3 separate regions of the Homo sapiens genome follow, and regions 1 and 3 are each linked to region 2. Evidence: promoter capture Hi-C in 16 types of primary human blood cells and fetal thymus (Javierre and others, 2016). All regions are on one chromosome and are shown on one strand. Each heading gives the region's core, a stretch centred on a gene start or on the middle of the fragment in contact. The rest is flanking DNA. Distances are from core to core; before and after follow the strand shown. Region 1 overlaps ANAPC13 (anaphase promoting complex subunit 13). Region 2 holds the start of PCCB (propionyl-CoA carboxylase subunit beta). Region 3 overlaps ARMC8 (armadillo repeat containing 8).

Evidence for each region. The method cuts DNA at HindIII sites, captures the fragments that hold promoters and counts their contacts. A CHiCAGO score of 5 or more calls a contact.
Region 1: a contact is called between a fragment that was not itself captured here and the fragment with the promoter of PCCB in region 2, in 2 of 17 cell types (total B cells and non-activated CD4 T cells). The highest score is 5.8, in total B cells.
Region 3: a contact is called between a fragment that was not itself captured here and the fragment with the promoter of PCCB in region 2, in 1 of 17 cell types (activated CD4 T cells). The highest score is 5.3, in activated CD4 T cells.

The regions. Positions count from the first base shown.
Region 1 is chr3:134,480,961-134,483,725 of GRCh38, reverse strand. ANAPC13 (anaphase promoting complex subunit 13) reads left to right here. Exons shown (of 3, transcript NM_015391.4): 2 at 795-920. The coding sequence starts at 822. Among named protein-coding and RNA genes, the nearest start is that of ANAPC13, 3.6 kb to the left of the region's middle. The HindIII fragment of the contact is 703 bases long and covers 1,055-1,757 here.
Region 2 is chr3:136,249,039-136,251,911 of GRCh38, reverse strand. It overlaps PCCB (propionyl-CoA carboxylase subunit beta), which reads right to left and starts at 1,572. Exons shown (of 15, transcript NM_000532.5): 1 at 1,354-1,572. The coding sequence starts at 1,536. RefSeq lists enhancers at 1,098-1,147, 1,778-1,837, 1,067-1,933. The HindIII fragment of the contact is 10,493 bases long and covers 1,089-2,873 here.
Region 3 is chr3:138,221,817-138,224,843 of GRCh38, reverse strand. It overlaps ARMC8 (armadillo repeat containing 8), which reads right to left. Exons shown (of 22, transcript NM_001363941.2): 3 at 2,847-2,918; 4 at 1,313-1,455; 5 at 1,111-1,208. Among named protein-coding and RNA genes, the nearest start is that of ARMC8, 36 kb to the right of the region's middle. The HindIII fragment of the contact is 1,165 bases long and covers 1,178-2,342 here.

The DNA of each region.
Region 1 (2,765 bases), core at 157-2,656, 1.8 Mb after region 2:
GGATGATGCCTATGATGAGTCAGGGCCCAACCTTGGAAACAGGGAAATCCAGAAGTATCCTACAAGCTAGCCAGCCTTTTGGATTAGATTATAGCAGTTTCAGAGAAAAATGGGGAATCAGCCATGGTCAAGGAGCTAAATAAGCATCGTGACCATTTGGGCCAGAAATTGAAGGGAGTGTAGCGTTAAGAATTAGAGGAAGGAACCTCCGAGGAAGGAGCTACCCCAAAGGGAAGCAGAAACTGGAGAAACTTTAGCAGTATGAGGTTCTACCACTGGTGTTCACCTAGAAGTGCTTTATTCAGATCTCAGCCTGGGTACTATTTTAGGGAAGGAAGCCGTTTCCTTTACAGTATGTTCGTGTGACTCCTGTGCCTAAGAATGCTGAGGTTTGAGCCAGGGGCTAGAAAGGAAACTTAGCTGGCCATTATGAATCAGGGACTCATCAAAGGCATCACAAACAGGAAAAGGTGAATGTTCAAGTTAGAAGAGAAGAGCTACATTGAGATGCAACATATTAATATTTGAGGGCCTCGTTTAACGTGTTGCTCTCCTGTCACACTCTATGACACTGGTCTGTCAGCTGGGCTATGCCTGTCCAGTATACACTATAAAATATGTATCAGTTGGGGTTGGAGAGAGGAACTGTGATCAAAGTAGTCACCCGGCCCATATGAGAAAATGAACCTTTTCCCAAAAGGTGGCCCCAGACTAAAAAGCCTGGAGAATCCTAATAGTGGATTATACCATCTCTTCAGTCTTCGTGTTTAAGAAATAACCTCTTTGGCTTACAGATTTGACAAGATCAAAGCTGCAGGAAAATGGACAGTGAGGTTCAGAGAGATGGAAGGATCTTGGATTTGATTGATGATGCTTGGCGAGAAGACAAGCTGCCTTATGAGGATGTCGCAATACCACTGGTAGGTTATGATTTGAGCTGAGGATGGGTTAAAGGTATTGATCTGGCAGTAACTAGTGGAGGAGGGATATCAATGGAAGATAAACTAGTGTGGCAAAGAAATCAAAGCTGTGGAATTCTCTAACTCTAGAAGCTTCTGGAGAGCATCCAGTTGTATGTTTTATTTGAAGAAAAATGTGGTTCAGGGAGCTAACATGGCCAGGTCAGTTAGGAGTCATGCCAGGACTAGAGCCCCGATTTTCTGAGCCATGTTCTGTCCACCACACGAAAACCAGAGAAACCAAATAATGAGAGTTTAATGCGCAAGATGGGGAAGAACAAGAAGCAGCAGCATATGAGCTCTGTTTCTTACTTCCCTGCCTGTGGCTCATCAGTCTTTCAGCATTTTTAGAAACTTACATTCTTGGAGCATACACCTATCTTAGGTTCCCTGGAAAATATTCAGAAGATACCTGGGTATTCTTTTGCGTTTAGGCCAGTGGCCTTCTGGAATACTCTTTTCTTCCCCATCTTTGGAAAACTCTGCTGCAGGGAGTTTGTTAAACCTCATGTAATAAGTGATCCAAAAGTTTTGCTTATATAAATGTTTGTTTAAAATCCTATTTATGTCATAGAGGCCTAAAAAAGGGAAAACAGGACTGTTTTTCTTTAAAGCATGCCAGCTGCCCTGAGAAGAGTAGTTAGTATTGAATAAAATATAATTTATAGTTAGAATATCTGCTGTTGCTGTTTGCAAAGAAATAAAATAGTTCATCTGTATTTTCATTTACGAATAAGAGATAGTAATATGTTCAATGAATAATATACATATCAAATAAGTCATAGCTTAGTTCAAGCTTAGGAAAATAGTCAAAAGAGAGAGCATAATAAGAATTATAGATGTCATTTATTGAATACCAGTTTTATGCCATGGACTGAGGTTGGAAATATACATTATCTCTAATTCTTAAACAACCCTGTGAGGGAGGTGCTGTTATTCCCATTTTATAGGAAAAGAATAGGATCAGAAAGGGCAACTTGCCCAAAGTCTGGTAGCAGGTAAGTAGGGCTTCATATAACATATACCTAGGTCTGTGAAGTTCCAAATCCTGTCTTGTGAACTTCTGTTCATTCATTCATTTGACAAGCATTTTTTGAAGCCTACTGTGTGCCATAAGACTATGTGAACATAAGATACAGTTCCTCCTCCTGAGGGGTCTAGAAAGGCAACACTTATAGATAAGTAATTGTGATAATAAATATTCTAGGTGGGGGCATAAACAGCCACATCATATACGAAGTGGCTGATTGCCTGGTGGGCATCAGAAAGGCTTCTGAGAGAATGTCATGTTTAAGCTGGGTCATAAGGAAGGACCAGAAGTTTAGTGGAGGTAGACAAGGGTATTGCAGCAGAGGGGACAGATGTGTAAAGGCCCAGAGTTTTGAAAGGCTTTGGGACATGGTGAGTCATTCACTGTGGATGAAGAATACATTTGTCACATAAGTAGGCTGAAAAGTTGGGCTTGGATCAGATTGAGAGTGGTATTTGATATCACACTTAGACCTCATCCTCAGGAGATCCAGGAATGAATGGTCTTAAAAGCAAGACTGCTATGCTCAGATTTGGCTTTTGGAAAATCAGTTTAGCCAGCATTGTTAGAGATGGTGTGACATGGAGATAGGGGCAAGTGAGACCAATTGGCAAGCTGTTGTGGTCTAGGCAAGGGAGGAGGGCCTAAACAAAGTCAAGAAAATAAAGGAGACGTCCATTTCTGGAGAAGTTTATGGCTCAGATTGGAGAACATTTGGGTGGCAGGGGTGGAAGGAGGTTTCCCTGCTGACTTCCAGGCGAAGTTGGCTTGGCCCT
Region 2 (2,873 bases), core at 323-2,822:
GAGCAAAACTCCGTATCAAAACATAAAAATAAAAAGGGGTGCAGGAGGGGGTTCATATTAAATCAGCCTCCTAAGTTAACTTTGGCAAAAGAAAAACAGCTTCTGGAGGCTTCATCTAAACCTAGTAGGATCTACCTGGGAAAGGGCTAGGCGATGTTCCAGGGAAGAATTGAGCAATAGGCCCCAACAGAAAGAGTGTACAGGAGCACTGACAGGCCTTTCCAGAGGATGATCTAACATCTCCCTCAGCCCTAACAGAGTAGGTTAGAAGTAGCCCCAGGGGAGAGAAAGCACTCCTAGCACCACAAACCATCACTAAATTTACATTTCACTCTCAAGTGTCAAAAGGAACTGTTACCTTTGGACCCTTGTCAAATGCGAATTTATGACATCTGAATCAATATTAGACAAATATAGAGCTGTTCAAATCTCCTCACTTTAAGACCCCATCCCTCCCCCAGTGCCTCCCTCATGGTTGTGAGTTGTGCCTGAATACTCTTCATCTGTAAGAGTTTCACTTCTGCACCTTCCCGTTGGTTAATTCGTTCAGCACAACGGTCCAGACTCACCCACCAGTCACGGACACACTGGGCAAGCCTGGTTTCAAGTCAGGGATCACCTCTCCAAAATGGGCCGCCCAGCTTATCTCTGAAGGCCAGCTGGATTCTCGCCTCAAAACCCAGGCGGTGGGTGGCAGTGTTTCAACTGCTCAGTCCAGCCAAACATCGAGAGTAGCCTGCGCACTCCCAGAAAGGCCACCTGCTTCCGACACGTGCCTTTGCTACCCATCAAGGCGAGGCATGCTAAGGCCCTAAAGAGCTCGACCAGGCATTCTGCGGGCAGAAGTTCCACAAGTTCCTGCACGCGCACATCCCCCATTTCATGTTAGTGGAGTATGCCCAAGTTCAGTTTTCCTGCTTCCACAAAGGAGAAAGAACCTACCATCACTCTTTCATGGGGCACGAGAATAAGCACATGGTTTTTACTGAGCGCCTATCATTTTGCTATCTATGGTCTAACGATACACTTGTGAAGGAAGAATTATTATTAAAATGACCCACAGAGATTTAATAAGTTGCCCAAAAGCTTATGTTAAGTGTTGAGCTGGCTAGAGACGAGCCAGATCCGTCTAAATCCCAAGGGTTAAACAGTATGAAAAAGCACACAGGTGCTTCTGCTGGTTATACCCGCCTCCACGAGAAACGCTACAGGTTTTCAAGGTGAACACCCTTGCTCCGGCCCCTCCAGGCACCGTGCGGATTGGCAGGGAGGCCTCGGACGCCGCAAGCCGGGCACGCAGTGATAGGTCGCGGACGCCAGGGGCGGGACTCACTTAGGCCCCTCAGGACTCACTCGCTTGTGCTGCGCGTCAATACGGCGTTGGCCCCCTCCCAGCAGCGCGGTCCGGCGCTTGTTTTCGATGCGTTCGTTAACAGAGGTGGCCTGGCTGCAAAGGCTGCGGACCGCGGCGCGGAGACCGCTCGCCAGAACGCTGAGCCTTGCCCCGACCGCCGCCACCCGTAATGCCGCCGCCATTTTTGCTGTGCCGGCGCGTCCCCTACCGGCGCACCTGAGTACGCATGTGCTAAAGCGTGGGTACGGCGCTTGCGCAGCATCGGCTGGCTGTAGGGAGCCGCGGGGGCTGGACTACAGAACCTGCTTGGGAGTAAGGCGTGAGAGTTCGAGACCCGGTGCTGCCCGAGGAGGGTCGCGCAGAGAAAAAGTACAGGGCCTGCCTGGCTGCACAAAAAAGGGACATAGTCCTTGCTCTTCTCTGACCACCTAGACCCTTAACTTTGTCGTCCCACTTCCTACAGAAAATGATTATAAGATTTAACCAACATTTATTAAGCATTGTGCCAGGTGTTGCTTTTTGCACTTACCATGCACTAGCTTACTATCTGGATTTCACAGATGAGGTAAATCAAGCACAGAGAGATGAGTGATTTGATCAAGAGGCAAGACTGAGGCCGAGGTAGGTGAGCCCAGGAGCCCAAGACCAGCCTGAGCAATATAGTAAGACCCCACCTCTACAAAAAAATTAAAAATTAGCTGGGCATGGCGGCTTGCACCTGTGACCCCAGCTACTCGGGAGGCTAAGGCGGCAGGATGGCTTGGCCCAGGAAGTCGAGGCTGCAGTGAGCCGTGATTGCATCACTGCACTCCAGCCTGGGCAAAACCCTGTCTCAAAAAAAAAAAAAAAAAAAAGCCAAGACTGACAATGTGGTTGGCCAGGATTCAAACTCAGAGACCTATCATTAATATGTGCCAGATAATGAGCACAGGACCCTTAACCTCTAATCAGTAGTTCTCAAAGTATGGATCCCATTAAAGAAAAAACTATTCATGACACTTAATTATTCATGTTTAAGAATGGTAAGGCAAACTTTATTCAGGCCCAATCTGACAGAGGTAGGGATAGAGTTTTGCCATAAGTCAGAGCGATTGGGCTGAATATAGCAAAGTGGTAATTTATAGCTAAGGGGCAGTGTGTGGAAGTCAGTGGATGGAAAATTACTAAGAGGAAACATTGGCGGGGAATCTGGCTAAATTGACCTAACAGGATTCCTGCCCAAGGCAGGTCAGGGTAACTGAACATCACCTGGGGGATGGTGGCGGTATGGGTCAAAACCAGATATGGAGAGTAATCAGATATCAAGAATGGAGGATTCTGGCTAAACTGACTTGGCAAGTTTCTTGCTAAAATGGAATTCCACAAGGAATGACATGGGAGCCCACACTCAGGCCTAGTCAAAGAGAGAGCTCAGAAGAGCCTGACCAATGTTTGATCAAGGAGGGAATCTTGTCAATCCAGCAACTTCAGTATCACCTGGGAGTGAGTTGGAAATGCAAGCTCGAATTCTCAGAACTTA
Region 3 (3,027 bases), core at 511-3,010, 2.0 Mb before region 2:
TACAAAGCTGAGAGCATCTGATATTTGGAAATAAGAAAGAACTCAAATACTTTTTGAGACTTTATTTATGTACTTATTTAGAGACAGTCTCTAAAAGCAGACAGTCTGCCCTGTCGCCCAGGCTGGAGTAGGGTGGTGTGATCTCAGATCACTGCAACGTCTCCTCCTGGGTTCAAGTGATTTTCATGGCTCAGCCTCCCGAGTAGCTGGTGTTGCAGGTATGTGCCACCGTGCCCGGTTAATTTCTGTAGTTTTAATAGAAATGGGAGTTTCACCGTGTTGGCCAGGCTGGTCTCGAACTCCTGGCCTCAGGTGATATATCCATCTTGAACTCCCAAACTGCTAGGATTACAGGCGTGAGCCACTGTACCCAGCGGAGACTTTTATCATTTTTTATTTTTAGTGAGAGGATCTCATTCTGTCACCTAGGCTGAGGTGCAGGGGCACCATCATAGCTTAGTATAACCTCAAACTCCTAGGCTCAAGCAATCCTTCCACTGCAGTCTCATGAGCTAGGACTATAGGCATGAGCCATTGCACCAGGCTAATTTATTTTTATTTTTTTCTTGTAGAGATGGAGTCTTGTTGTCGGGCGCAGTGGCTCACACCTGTAATCCCAGCACTTTGGGAGGCCGAGGCGGGTGGATCACAAGGTCAGGAGTTCAAGACCAGCCTGGCCAAGATGGTGAAACCCTATCTCTCCTAAAAATACAAAAAATTAGCCGGGTGTGGTGGCACGCGCCTGTAATCCAAGCTACTCCAGACGCTGAGGCAGAGAAATGCTTAAACCTGGCAGGGTGAAGGTTGCAGTGAGCCGAGATCGCGCCACTGCACTCTAGCCTGGGTGACAGAGCAAGACTCCACCTCAAAAAAAAAAAAAAAAAAAGAGATGGAGTCTTGTTATGTCACTCTGGTTGATCTTGAACTCCTGGCCTCAAGCAATCCTCCCACCTCAGCCTCCCAAAGCACTGGGATTACTGGTGTGAGCCACCATGACCAACTGAGACTTTTTTACATAACACAGTTATGATGAGTCTGAAGATGCTAAGCAAATTAGGAGTAGGCTGTTGGTGAAATGTAACTAATGTCTCAAATACATCTAAAACTCACTGTATACAGTAGCTCCTCTGGAGTGACAGGACTGGTGAAGATGGTACGCAGGCATCGGAGGCAAGCTTCAATAAACTTCAGGTCTGGGGACAGTAGTCCTATTAACAGAAATGAGATTTAGGACTAATCCTTTCAACCAGTATTTAAAGCACTGCAAACTGATTCTTAACCTTAATTGAGCAAAAATGGCTTCCCTACATACCTTGCAATAAGGCAGGGATAATATGGCAGTCCAGTAGAGACTTGACATTGTTTTCAGTACCCATAGCAAGACTTCCCAACACCACTGCACATTCAGTTTTCAGCTCTGTGCTTGAGGTTTCTTGCTGAAGCAAGTACAACAATCTAAAAAGAAGGAACTTAATAAACGAAGAGACTAAAAAATTTAAACAAGACTCAATGTGACCAAAAAAGGCTGTGCAGTCCACATACTAAAAATATGGTTGGCTGAGTTTATATGAATCCAATGGTCATTTGTTTATCTCATCTGCTAATTAAAGAAACATCTGGAAAAAAAATCTAGAAGAGGTTTTGAAAAAAAGAACTATCATATTCTTAGAGTTTATAAAAAGTGTAAATCTGAAAGTTGTCCACAGATAGTCTCTGTAGAAACAGCGTCATCAGAGTCCATGTCATCTACCACTTCCTGCTGGGTCTCCAAAATATGAAGACTCTCAAATGCCATGTGCTGCCAGATCTTAAACTCAAACTAGAAATGCTACTGCTCTGAATCCAGAGCAGTGGTGCAGTTTGTAGATATCGAGCCTATAGGGAATATTCAGAGCCCTTGTGCAGCTCCTCAAGCAAAGGTAGTTTCTTCTTTCTCCAGCTCTCTCATTTGGAAAAGGAAGAGATCCTCTCATTTCCACTCCAGCCCAGCTTGCCAAACAAATACTCCCCAAACCCTAACCTTCCTCCACTTATAACCATCTACCTTATGTTCTAAGACAGGACCCTCATGCTCCATAAAGCACTATTTATATATACCAAACATAAATCCCCTAAGAAAGGCTGCTGACAGCTTTATAGTTACTAAAGTATATGTTTGAGGTTGGTGAGTTAAAACACTTAAACCATTAATTCTGTATCAAAACCAGAAAATAAGGAGAAAAAAACAAAATAATAAATAATTCTGAATGAAAAGCTAATAGCAATTGCACAGAAAACTTAGCTCTGAGGAGCAAAAGTAAAGAGGAAGTTATGTAACTGTCATTGCCTGCCTAAAGGAAGCTTATTAGGTCATCAAAAGAAGAAATTAAACTTCCTAAACTTCTTACGTTAACTTAAAAAACAGCAAGTTGTAAAAATCAGAAGTTAAAAAATGAAACTGGATTAAAAATCAAGCAGGGTTTTTTTCCTTTAAATTCAAAAAGGTCTTAAGGCTCCTAATAAATTACCCACTCACACAAAAAACTGCCAAGGCTCTAAGGAAATGGAGAAGAAAGTATCAGGCTGTTGTACATTGCATATGTACTTTACGAACCCTTTTGTCATCAGGTCAAAGGTCTTCCTGAGTTTCCAAAATGTATTAACACATTCACTTCTTACTACATTCTCTGTTACTTTATAATTTTTTTCCTTAAAGATAGTTTAAATACTTACATTTATTTTTAAAAATAGGATTTATTTTAAGAATTAGACAGACAATACAGGAAAAATGGGTTCTATAATTGAGAGTAAGAAATACATTAGAAACTAGTATGAATGGCAAGAAAGGGGTGAGACAGCAAACATACCTTGGAACAGCTCCTAAAACAATGAGATTGGCTTTCTGCTTGTTGTTTCCAATTACAGCATTTTTCATGTCTCTGAATTAAGGGGAAGAAAAAATAAAGTATGTTGAGACAGCACTGAAGAAAAATCAAAGATCATTCTACTTCATTATGCAATATCTTAGATTTGACAAAGTAAAAGCAC